Regions from separate parts of the Homo sapiens genome. Here all the other regions are linked to region 1. The links are contacts of gene promoters, found by promoter capture Hi-C in blood cells and fetal thymus (Javierre and others, 2016). All regions are on one chromosome and are shown on one strand. Each heading gives the region's core, a stretch centred on a gene start or on the middle of the fragment in contact. The rest is flanking DNA. Distances are from core to core; before and after follow the strand shown.

Region 1 (4,028 bases), core at 1,006-3,505:
ACAGACCCAGCTGCACCTCTGGGCTATTTTAAGCCATCTGTTTACCCAGAGGGGCCCAGGAGACAGCTCTCTACAGCTGTTACTTGTGGCCAGGAAACACTCAGCGCTCTGCTCCCACCTGAACTGTTCACAGAATGCTCAGAACGTTGCCCCTTCTGTGCCCCTTTTTCTGAGCCTTGGGTCCTCACTACCTCCCAGATAGAGATAACGTGGAGCTCTGGGAAACCTGGGATCCAGAATGAATAAGAAACCAGTAGAAAGGATACTTTGCTGGGAGTAAGAAGATGTGCCACCTACCAGTTCTGTGGTTTTGGACATACCATTCAATCTCTCTGAGTCTCAGTTTCCCCCTCTGTAAAGTGGCAATAATATATCTCCCTCTCCTACCTTTGTGCTGAGTGTTGAATGGTCTCATGTTCATGAAACTATGTTGTGATTATAAAGCCCTGGACAAATGTAAGTTATATCAGTGGACTTAACCCTTCAGGATCCATTGCTCTGGGACCCCCAAAGCATGTTCAGCTGAACAAACATAGTCTAATTCTGTTCTTGACCTACCCTCCCTCTGTGTTGGAAAGCCACACAAGAGTGTAGTGTGCACACGCGTGTGTGTATGACTAAGGATAGCGTATACCAGCATGCTTAGGTGTTAGAAAAAGGCTCTCCTTCCATAAGAAAGCCACTGGAATTGAGGACTCTCCTGGCCAGGCTGCCTTAGGCTTTCCCTGTGTCTATATTAATCTGTGCCCAGCTGCTCCCTTAATCCTAGGATGAGGGTGAGATTAGTTGGGTGGGCATGGGCAAATGGAAATTCAGGGGCTACTCTTGCCTCAGGAAATAGGATGCATTTTCCCTTAGGTTCTCTTGAAAATCAGAAAACATCTGAGCTGGAAGGGACCTTACTACTATAGATCTTCATGTTATAAGTGCTAAAACTGTGGCTGACTGGAAAATCACTTGTCAAGCTTGAAATATCAAGTCCAAATTGCCACTCAGGGCTTCCTTTCCCCCTTGAAAGCATCATGCCTCCTTTCTTCCTGAAACTTCTCTTAGTCTCGCACCCACTCTGCCTGTGGTCATTCCTGGAGACCCCATGAAGGGAACGTTTGGTTCAAGGAGGAAATATGGCCTCATAGATTCTCTTTTTATTCTTTGCTCAGGATTTAGAAGGGTCTTCCACTACAGGAATAGAAAGGGAAGAGGAAGAAGACTACTTAGTTTTATTCCTGGAGATGGCATAATCTGGATAAGACAGAGGTACCCTGCACACAGCCCCCTCCTTGCAGTCTGTAGACCCTTTTCTTTGGGTCCCAGTTCCTCCAGGCAATGCCTGAGCATGTTGGAACAGCTCCTGTGTCCATAAGCTCCTGGGCTGCGTTATCTGCATGTAATTTCTCTGTTTCTCTGTGGGACAGCCCCTGAGGAGACTCAAAAGATTTAATAAGAAAAAAGCTGCTTCTGAGTCTTGGGAAAGGATGGATCTATCTTTCCTGTCTTGGGAGCATCTACTCCAGGAAGAAGCTCTAAAGAAAGGGCTAGAGGCCTATGGCTAGCGGAGAGACCCACTCAGGAACAGAGAAGTTGAGGGGAAGGGTTGCTTTGAACGGAGCCACATATAGATGTGCCAGTCTCATCCTCTGTCCTCGCCAAACTCCCTGGGACTAAGCTTCTACCCAGAGAGGCAGGTGGCCATCCCAATACCAGGAGGCCTGAAGGGTGGTTTTATTCTCTGGGCTTTTGCCTCCAAGGAGCTCCTCCTACCTCTCCCTGATTAGAGAGCCCAAGGTGTCACCCTGAGAAGCCAAGAGAATTTGCTGCTGGGTCCCCTACCACCCCTGCCGGGCCCACTGGTGCACTCTCACTGCTGCAGGGTTGTAGCTGTCCCTGACGCCTAATATAACCATCCTGAATTTCCACAGCCTAACCCAAGGCTGCACTCTTCTAGGGAGCAGAACCCTGACCCACATCTGAGGCTTACCCTGTGACAATCTCAAAGGGCGGCAGCTCAATCAGCTCTTTCAGCTTCTCAGGGTCGTCCAGGTTCTCCAGATCCTCCCCATTCTGGGAGGCAGCCTCAGTGGCCACAGCAGCCTCTTCCTTCTGGGCCATGGAGGGGCTGTGGCTCAGGAGTCACTGAGGGAGAGGAGAGAGGCAGGCAGGTCTGGGCCAGGCCCTGGCGGCAGAGTCCCAAGCAGCTGTCAGCAGCTAAATCTGGCTGGGGATGACGGGAAAAGGACCCAGCAGGCCAGGCTTCGTGCTTTCCCCACTTAGCCACAGGCTTTATAGCCAAGGCCTCCTGCCCCTCCCCCAGGCTCTCTCCCTCTATCTTTTTTTAATTGAGTGACAGCGGGTGCTGGGGTGGGGGAATGGAAAATCTGGCCATTAGTATCCCCTATTTATCAGTAGGCAAAGACAGGAACCTGGCAGGTGGGTATGGCTTGGCCTGCTCTCTTCTCCCTCTCCCTCTCAGCTCACCTTATGTTCTCCCCTTTGTTTCCCACCCAAATTCCCTAGCTCCACTGGGGGAGAGTGTGGAAGGGGCCCCAGGGCAGGCATCCTGAGATTTAGGAGGGTGGCCTTCTGAGATTTAAACAGGAGGAGATGTGTGTTGAAAGGGGCTGACTGCAAAAAGACCCAGGCCATTTGCTTTGGGGGAACGTGGGTTCAGGAAAGGAGGGGTCCTGGCAGAGGTGGGATCAAAACTGACAATTTGGGGAGTAAGTGTGTGAGTTATGACTCAAAAGCGGTGGGTGCTGATTTGCCTGTTACAAAGCCATAATGTAATGTCAAATCGATCAGGAGCCTCCCTGAGTAACAATAGCTGCCATTTACTTAGCTCAGAGATTTTGAAACAGGCCAGGCAGTGGGTTTAGGGGTTTAAATGAAATCAGATGCATGCTTGCCACAGCCATGGGAGGCGATGTGTATTATCCCAAGTTACAGGTAAACTGAGTCACAGAAGTGTGCAGAGCCGGGATTAAAATGCAGGCTTTTGTACTTCAGGCCAAATATTCAACCTCCATGCTATGTGCCCTCACAGTCAGTCTTTTATTCTTCTTAACAAATATTTATTGAGTATCTACTCTATGCCAGGTGCTGTTTCAGGTACTGGGAATATGGCAAAAGAACAAAGCAAATGAAAATCCCTGCTGTGATGATTTGTGGAGCTTGAGGAACTGAACAACAAATAAGGTAAGTAAAATACATGGTCTATTTTGTGATGACAAGTGCCAAGGAGAAAAGACAGGAAATGGAAACAGGAAGTGCTAAGAGGTGGGGTTACGTACTTATAGGATGGCCAGGGTGAAGGACTTTGAAAAGGAGACAATTGAAGAAGACGTGAAGAAGGCAAGGGAACTAATCATTTGGTTGTCTAAGAGGAAAGCGTTCCAAGGAAGGGAACAACGTGAGCAAAGGCTCTGAGAAGGGAGCATTCCTGGGGTGTTTGAGGAACTAGCGAGGACATACATCTGGGTGACTGAAGAGTTCTAAGAGATTAAGCCAGAGAGATAACAAGGGTAAAAGGGACTGGGGCCTTATGGGCTGTCATAAGTACCTTGCTTTTTCTCAGACTGAGGTGGGAAGCCATTGTCTCTGAACAGGTGAGACAGGTGGTCTGAGCACTTGGGAAGAGCAGAGGCAGGGGACCAGTGAGAAGCCTACTGAGGCCAGAGAGAGATGATGGGGGCCCATAGAAAAGACCCTGAGCCGGAACAGCAGCAGAGGATGGCTAGATGATTTTTGCAGCTCTCATGATGGGTACTTAGCAGAGGCAAAAGTCTTCGTGTTTGGAGCAGTGCAAACACTCTAGGCCATTCTCAGGGAAGCAGAAGGAAGGGGTCAGGGTCACTTGTAGGTTGAAAATGAGGAACCTAAGAACACTGGGGAACGGATCTGAAAACAGCTCCAAATGGGTTTGGCTGGTGGGGATGAGAGGGTAGGGCACCCTTTGGAGGGTCTGACTAAAGAAGAGGAGTCAAGATGGTTTGGAAGATTTAGGGCTCACTCCTCCAGAGAGTCTGAGCAGC
Region 2 (4,311 bases), core at 1,681-4,180, 1.1 Mb after region 1:
TCCTGAACAAGGTCCTCAAAAGAGAAATGATAGGAATAATTGATACAATATTTTTTGAAACTTTATTGCTTCATTAAAATGCTTAAAATTGCAAGGAGAGTCCACAGTTACTGATAGAATGGGGATAGGTTTGAATGAATATTCAGATGACTGGACACTTGAGGTTCCTATTAGAAGAGACAATGGACATATGGCTGGAAATCACATCCTGGATCTTTTTTTGAGGGGGAGTTGGGAGATGAAAGTCAAGTGCGGAGAAAATGGGTAGGGAATAAGGAGAAACATATCTTCCTGTCAGCTGGAGAACAGATCACTAGAGATAAATTGTAAGGTGGGAATTGCATCATATTTTTCTGACCTAGTCTCAAAAGCCATGCAGTATCACTTTCACACTGTTACAAACAAGTTACAAACTGACCCAGATGCAAAGGAAGGAAAGTTAATTCCACCCCTTCTGGAGAAAGCAAAATTCTATCATAGGGCTGAATAATACAGTAGCCAGTAGCCACACATGGCTGTTTACACTTCAATTAATGACAATTTAATAAAATTAGAAATTCAATTCTCAGTCACACTAGCCACATTTCATGTGTTCAATAGCTATGTCAGGACATGGAATATCTCCATTATTGCAGAAGTTTCTATTGGACAACACAGCTCTAGAACATACGAGACAGGAAATATTGTTGCAGCCATCTTGCAAATACAGTCTGCCACCAGGACCTAGGCAAACCAAATTGTATTAGAGAAGATAGTGCAGTGGCTCACAAGACATTGTGTACAAGGGTTGGCAATAACTGCTGCTGTTTATCACTAAGAGAGTACTTGGGTTAAAGTCTCAAAGAGAGGATGTATATGCCTAGGGGGCTAAAACTAGGGCCAATAGGAGGGTATCACAAAAGAGAGATTTCTAGGACAGTATGTTCCATGAGGCTCTTTGAGCATGTGACAAAAAGCCACCATTCCCCAGGAAAAAAAAATACAGTATTATGCATTCAAGTTCAGGGGTCTACAGAACCCTCCAAATCAATCCATGGACTTGTCACATCAGAGCCCTACTGCAGGCTGTGAGCCCTTGAAAGTATTTCCTTATTCCCAGCCATTAGCAGAGGATTCGGCCCTGATGACACTTAATCACCATATGTTGACAGAAAGGGGCACTTTTTTGCTGAATACAAGTAAGAACTTTAATAGGTGGGGAAACATTTAAGTGGACCAGACAACATCAGGAAGCCAGAAAGTTTCCCAGCACTACAGGAGTCCAAGTAGATGTATGATAATATGGAGAGGATTTCAGCCTTCAAACAGAACTGAGTAAGCCTTAGGTCTTGCCTTGGAGACCCAAGTTCTATAAAAGATGACAGTAAAGCCCAAGTGAAGGGATGATCACATACAACTTGTATGAAGAGGGTGGAATCTAGAGAGGCTCCAAGGAGCTGGTGACATTCTTGGATCAAGTTCATATGTCAGATGGCTTCTTCCCTGAGGTTGAGTCCTCTCTAGAAGGCTCTTCAAGCCTCATACATACAAAAAAAAAAAAAGTTTTTATCCTTCTCTCCCCCATACCCAGTTTTCCTGATAAATCCAGACATATCTAAACTTAGCAGTGGACAGAGCTTGAACAGTCCTCAGTTGGTCTTCAGGCCCCTTGCAAACAGACCTCTGGCATACTTGTCTCATCAGTTTCAAACACACCCCAGATACACTTTCATCCCCTACAATATATTTTCTGAATTTTGAGTATCATTGTGAGAAATTCACATTGAATCTAAGGCTAAAATCATCTCAGCTTTTCTGACAGTCCCACTGCACTTGTAAAAGTCAGTTATATTCAGTTATTTTTTCCTCTCCCACTATTCGGTCAATTCTTCAAGATCAGGAGCTATATTCCCACTTCCTAAGCATGCACTTGGCAGCTGTATGTTCCAGCCGGTGTTTTATTCTTGCAATTCCACAGGGACAGGGTTTTGGATACAACAGGCTGGTTTGAGCATAATTATTCTTAGTACATAAGCTCATTATTGTGTGTGTTATCCAAAATCTTAAAGGACTACAGCACTCTGCTTTTTATAGAGAGGAAGAGGCACACCCCACCATTCCTAACACATACTGAATCTTGACTGAATGACTGTAGAAAGCAGATTGCCCTGGGTTTGAAACCCACTATCAGCTGTGTGACTTCGAGAAAATTACCTGGTCTCTCTAAGCCTCAATGTCCTCAGTTGCAAAAAGGACATTCTATTCATACCAGGATTGTTTTAAATAACATTTAGCATGGTGCTTGGTGTATAAGAAGCATTTCAAAAATGTTGTCCACTCATTCTGTGACTTCTCATATACTCTTGCCTTCTCCACGAAAAAAAAAAAAAAAAAAAAGATTGTTAATATCCTTTTGGGGCACAACTGGAGAAGTGTATCTTGAAAGACCTAACTGACCGTTTTACAACCACAATCTGCACTATGGTGCACTGAGTGATGTGAGTCATGCAAGTGTAGGCTAAATCTTTTTATTTAGAATGTTGATATTTCACGGACTTCTGAAAATTTATTACGATTTTTTGAAATATTACATTAAAAAATTACTTACTTTGATAACCGCAGTTTACCTGGCACCCTCTTAAATTTTGCATCCAAGGCAGTGCCTCATTCGTTTGGCCCTTGTCCTGTCCTGCCTACTGTCACACCACGACCTAAATCTGAGACTAGAGCAGCCAGAAAAACTGGAAGGAAAAGAACCCCGTTCCTTACCTGAGTTTACCCTTCTGCCCTAGAGCGCTACCCCGGCCCAGGAAAGTGGGCACAGGGAGCGTACTACAGCTCCCACAAGGCCACGCGGGACTGCGTCCTCGCCTATTGGCTGCGCGGGTCCCGCCCTCCCCCTGCCCCTCCCCGCCCTTGCTGGGATGACCCCGGGGGCGAGTGCCCGGCCAGTGTGCTCCCGAAGCGGGCTGCGGTTCCGCTCGTATCAGGCTTCATGGCGGCGCGGCCACTGTCCCGGATGCTGCGGCGGCTTCTGAGGTCCAGCGCCCGGAGCTGCAGCTCAGGGGCTCCGGTGACCCAGCCCTGCCCCGGGGAGTCCGCGCGAGCTGCCTCGGAGGTGAGCCCACCCCGCCTGCGTCCACAGCTTCCCGGGGCAGGAGTGGCCCCGGCACACTGCCCTTTTCCCCCAGTAGCTCCCGGCCTATCTGCTTGACCGCTTCTGGGAGGGACCCGTTGGCACTCCTCAGTGGAGCGATGTTCTCCAGATGGACCGCCCGGTCTCACCCGCTAGCCCAGCGGGAGAGGTTCCTGGGAGTCCCGCTTCAGAACCTCCCTGCCCCCCAGCCACGCCACCCCTTCTAGCCCTGAGCTTGGCCAGAAATTCGGGTAAGCAGAGGACTGGGACTTTGGGTCCAGTGAGGTGTCTTAGTACCTTTCAGCCTTGCCTTGCACCCACCCTCTTTCTTAAACATTTTCCCTCCCTATCCCAAGAGCTGAGAGATCAGGTGTCCCTGTGACACCTGCTTCATAGTGCGACTGACTAAACATGTCACCTCGGTGTCACCAACGATGAGTTGTTACTGTAGTCCCAGGGCTCTGTAACCCATCCTTTGCTGACTCTCCTTGTCTTTTTTATTAACCTTGGGAGGGTTCAGCCTTATCCTAGAGCAGAACAGGGCAGGACGTGGCTTCTTCCAGGTGAGAAATTAATTCCTCTGTCTTTAGGGTTTTGGGTAAGATCCCTCAGTCCTTGCCAGCACCCCTCAGAGTGTTTCAAGTCATTAAAAGTTTTAGGTTTTGGTTGTTCTTCTGCTCAGGTGGTTAGGGAATAATTTGGGGGGAAAAGTACCTCTTTTCATTTAGTGAAACCTCTTTTCGGTACCTATCTAGGCGTTTTTTTCCCCGTCTCCCAGAACTAGGCTTCCTGTCCTGGGATTCATAAGATCACTGCTCCCTCCTCCCCTATATTGCTCAATGACTTCCGCCAAATTTGCTTTCCCCAAATCTAAGCCCCTCTGGGATCCTCAGATAAGCAGGCCCATGGTTGGGAAGTGAAGACTTTTTAGTATCCTCAAACTCTGAACATCATTGAGGAAGAGATAGGAAAGCAAAGATGGCTGAGAGATCTTTAAAGAATTCAAGAAAAGGGACTTTTCTTCTCCAGCCCCCCACCCCCTAGTTTATTTTGTACTGGTCTTTCATGAGAGAACCTGTGTTGAGTGACTCACATGTGGAAGCATTTAGTCCTCACTAAGCCATGTGAGGTGAGTAGAGTTTGTATGTTCAGATGAGGGGGCTAATCTAAGTTAACTTTCCTCCAGTCGCAGAGCT
Region 3 (4,025 bases), core at 981-3,480, 1.7 Mb after region 1:
CCTCCCTCGGTGGCTCCTCCTGGGCAGCAGGTCACCAACACTTGTGGGGAGCACACAGTGAGGTGGGAGGGGAGTAGGGAGTTTCCTGCATATTCCTGAAGCCACAGGACTGGCCTGCCTGTCAGTCACATGTGCCCAGCCTCTGATTCCTTCTCGAGAAAGCCTCAAGGGGCAGCATCAGAAACACCAAGACAGGCCCAAGTGGGTGGGCGGCCCAGGTGCTCCTGTCCCTCTTGGCAGAGCTTGCTCTCTGTCTCTTCCAGATCTTCAGCTCCTTTGTTCTCTGTTCCCAAAGTCAGCTGTCTCCTCTGCTCAGGCTTCTACAAACAGGAAGGGGCTGAGTGATGTTTTGGTAACTCGTTGAACCCCTGGCTTAAAGTCTCACTCCCCTATCAGAGTGTGGTTCTTGCCAAAGAGCTGTGAGTGTAAACACTGCTTGAAGGCCCAGGCCCGAGGACACCATAACAATCACAGAGGAAGTAAGAGTGGCGTGTCAGACAACAGGAAGAGAAGAAGGCTCTTCTTGGTCTGCATCACTGCCCCCTCCACCCCCAGCCCCGTCCTCTTGGCAGCTGCCCATCTCCCATCTGCTGTGGCTGGGCCTTTTCTCTTTCTGCCTTCCATCCCCAACACACCCACAGGGCAAGCCCCAGGGCCCCTTACCCCAGGCCTGCATTTTGTCTTAGCCTCCTCCCCATAACCCAAAGGCTACTAGGCAGGCTTAACATTGCCTTCACATTGCCAGAAAGGCGCCCCCACCGTGATGGTATGGGCTGGCAGATTCGATGTATAATGACTGATGCCTGCCCTGTGGCGCCTGCACTCAGCTTCTCCACCAGCCGTGTGCAGTTTGGGCAGGAAGAGGTTTGTGCATGGATGGAGCGCCGCAACTGAGAGCCGGCCTTGGTCCTGTACTCGCCTTGCTTGGCCGCCAGCCTGCTTATTTACTATCCTCTCTTCACCACCAGGACCAGCAGCCTCAGCAACACTGTCAGGTCCTTTCTTAAGCCTGAGACAGCCCCACCTCTGCTGTGATCTTGTCTCATTCTCAGTTTCCTTGTCTAAAAATAAAAAAAAATAAAAAAAAATAAAAAAAAATAAAAAACTGGATTCAGTGATCTCCAAGTCCCCATCTATGCCCCAAATACTCTGATGATAGGTATCAGGCACTGAACAGCAATGAACAGCCAATCAGTCAGCAAACACTGTATATGTTGGGTGCCTTCTTATGCCAGGCACTACTACTAGTGCTGGTGCTACAGCAGAGAACAAGACAGAACCCAGCACGTGAGAAACTGACATTCTAGGGGGAGGAAGGAGACAGACAATGAACACGTCGACAAATACGTAAGATTGTTTGAGGGGATAATAAGTGCTATGAAATAGCTAAACTATGTAATGTTGTAGACAGTAACTGGGAAGACTGCTTTTAGCTGGGTAGGTTGGGGAGGCCTTGCTGGAGAAGATAACTTTAAACTGACAGCTGCATCATGAGAATGGAGCAGCTACGCCGCGTTCTGGGAATGCACAGTCCTAGCAGACAGAGCGGAAAGCGAGAAGCCTGAAGGGGAAGCTTTGCTTGGCCACAGGGTGGGAAGGAAGCTAGAGTGGCTGGAGGGCAGGGAGCAAGAGCACAAGGGCCAAGTCACACCAGCCTTATGCACAGGGGAAAGAGATTTGGATTTTATTCTGGATAGAGTGGAAGCCCACTGAATAATTTTAACCATGGAGTGATATGATGTGATTGATGCTTTAAAAAGCTCACTTTGTCTGTCACATGTAGTGTAGATTGTAGGGGCCAAGGGTAGACCAGTTACCAGGCTACCATGAAAGTGCCAGCAAGGGATGATTGTGGCTTGGACTCACCAGTAGACCAAATATGAGATGCAAGAGAAAGAGGAGAGTCAGGGCACCTCCTGGGCTTTTGATCTGAGCAGCGAAGAGAATGGCAGTGCCATTTACTGAAATGAGAAAGGCAGGGAGGCATGACCATCAGAGGCAAGGAGCTGGAGGGATGGAGAGTTCTGGCTGCCCTTTTTGAAGTTTCAGATGACATTTGATGTCCAAGAGGAGGTGTCGAGTAGACAGGTGAGCATCAGTGGAGCTCAGAGAGAAAGTCTAAGCTAGAAAAAGAAATATGCAAGTCATCATGTCTGGTTGGTGTCTGAAGCCACAGGACTGAGTACAATGTCCTCTGAAGACCAGAGATGGAGGTATTCAAATTGCTGAGAACAGCCCCCTGGGGTTCTCCAACAGTTGCGGAGAGAGAGGAAGCAGAGATGCTGAGAAGGCACTGCCAGGGTGCGAAAAGGAACAGCAGATAAGTGGGTATGGCCTCAGGCACAAGCTGGAGAAGCACAAGCTGGAGAAGCACAAGCTCCAAGGGGAGACGGGCCAGTAGAGTGTGGCAGGATGGAATGTGGACCACTGGCCATTTTGCATGTCAGGGTGATCATGGACAAGCACCATTTAGCCAGGGGACTGGGAGTGGCTGGGGAGAGGGTGGAAGGGAAAGAGGCTGAGGCAGTGAGCAGATACAACCCCTCCAGGGGGTTGAGCAGTGACAGGAGCAGAGAACTGGGCTGGAGCTAAAGGGAAGCAGGAGCCCAGAGGGATGCTTTAAGACATGCTCACGTGCTGAAACATGCATAGAGAGGGAAACTGATGCTGTGGTGGGAGAGGGGAGCAGAGCTGCAGGAAAAACTTCCTTGAGAAAGTAGAGGGGACAGTGTGTGGGGCACAAGTGGAGGAAGGCTTGGATACGCAGGATATCCTTTGAGCTGAGATATCCCTTCCCCTGTAACAAATCCATAGAAACCAACCATCATTCCTCCCCTCAAGAAGCCTACAAGCAAGCAATATCTTTAAGTTACATTCACTAAGCTTTTGTACATATAAGAGATGTGATCATCTAACTCTCTCCAAACAGAAGAGGCGGAAGTCCAGGTCCCTGTCAGAGTGGTGTCCTCCTGCTAACACTGTCCCCAGGCAGTGCAGAGAGCTGGATTGAAGGGCAGGCACTTTTATTAAAATATGTATGGCAAACTACCATTTATAAATGTTTTCATTTTTATTGTTTCATTTGATGCTCTTAACGCTCCTGTAAGGCATGCAGGGCCAAGATTATGATCCCCTGTGGACAGGTGAGGAAAGGAAACTGAGGCACACAGAGGTTGTATCACTTGCCCAAGGTTACACAGCTGATAAATGGCAGAGCCAGCATAACCCAGGTTTTCTGCTCTCTCCCCACTGGGCCACACTGTCTTGAAAAGCTGCAACTACCAAGATATGCCCACTCTGCTGTCAGGAGTTCTCTCGGCCTCAGGAACAGGAACCAGCATTGACGAGGGGAGTGACCGCAGCCTCTACCCACCCTGCAGCTGGGGAGCTTTGCTCTCCAAATAAACAGCAGCCTGGAAGTAATTCATCAAAGCAAACAAAACTTCCACAGCTCAATTTTTATTCCGAAAGGAAGAATATTCATTCTGGCTTTTCAGTGACCACGGGGCCACAAAGGAAGCCAAAGACAGGTTGACACGGGGTCCCTCTGCCACCAGGTCCCAAAGGGCCAGCAGGCGTGACCTCTCAGACATACAGCAGATGGTTCTGGTCCCACCATGTGGCACTTAATATGCAGCCCACTTATCAGGGCACCCAGGCAAACACACAGGCCGGGGCCCAGGCACCTTCTCAGCCAAAGCAAACACCTCCCTCTCCCTGCCTGGGCTCTCGAATCTTAATTTAGCTCACAGCGCTGCCTTGGTTACTTCAGGAGTGCTCATTAAGGGGAATTTGTGACTGTCAGCTCAGGAGCAGGAGCCCAGAGAGGGCAATTTAACATAAGCCTCGCCAGCTCTTAGGCTTCACCAAGGGCCAGGATGAATCTATTTGATTTAGGATTCATGGAACAGCATGGAATGTTTAAATCCCTGCCAGGGGCAGGCGTGGACAGGTATATAACACCCGTAAGGGGCATCAGTCATCCGTGGAGTCAACTCTGCTGTTTCCAACTGCCAAGGACAGTT

The links. Contacts are between HindIII fragments. The CHiCAGO score rates a contact against its expected background, and 5 or more counts as called.
Region 2: the fragment with the promoter of MOCS1 here is called in contact with the fragment with the promoter of APOBEC2 in region 1 in 1 of 17 cell types (endothelial precursors); the score reaches 5.1 in endothelial precursors.
Region 3: a contact is called between a fragment that was not itself captured here and the fragment with the promoter of APOBEC2 in region 1, in 4 of 17 cell types (total B cells, naive B cells, M1 macrophages and 1 more). The highest score is 8.2, in total B cells.

What each region holds. Positions count from the first base shown.
Region 1 is chr6:41,051,429-41,055,456 of GRCh38, reverse strand. It overlaps APOBEC2 (apolipoprotein B mRNA editing enzyme catalytic subunit 2), which reads right to left and starts at 2,255. Exons shown (of 3, transcript NM_006789.4): 1 at 1,979-2,255. The coding sequence starts at 2,109. The HindIII fragment of the contact is 6,727 bases long and covers 1,669-4,028 here.
Region 2 is chr6:39,933,081-39,937,391 of GRCh38, reverse strand. MOCS1 (molybdenum cofactor synthesis 1) reads left to right here and starts at 2,930. Exons shown (of 11, transcript NM_001358530.2): 1 at 2,930-3,097. The coding sequence starts at 2,975. LOC102723789 (a long non-coding RNA gene) reads right to left here and starts at 2,823. Exons shown (of 6, transcript XR_001744112.1): 1 at 2,749-2,823. The HindIII fragment of the contact is 5,632 bases long and covers 1-4,311 here.
Region 3 is chr6:39,339,675-39,343,699 of GRCh38, reverse strand. The region is part of intron 22 of KIF6 (kinesin family member 6); the gene reads left to right. LOC105375047 (a long non-coding RNA gene) reads right to left here. Exons shown (of 3, transcript XR_926774.3): 3 at 999-1,061. Among named protein-coding and RNA genes, the nearest start is that of KCNK16, 19 kb to the right of the region's middle. RefSeq lists enhancers at 1-373, 356-405, 3,680-4,025. The HindIII fragment of the contact is 1,310 bases long and covers 1,576-2,885 here.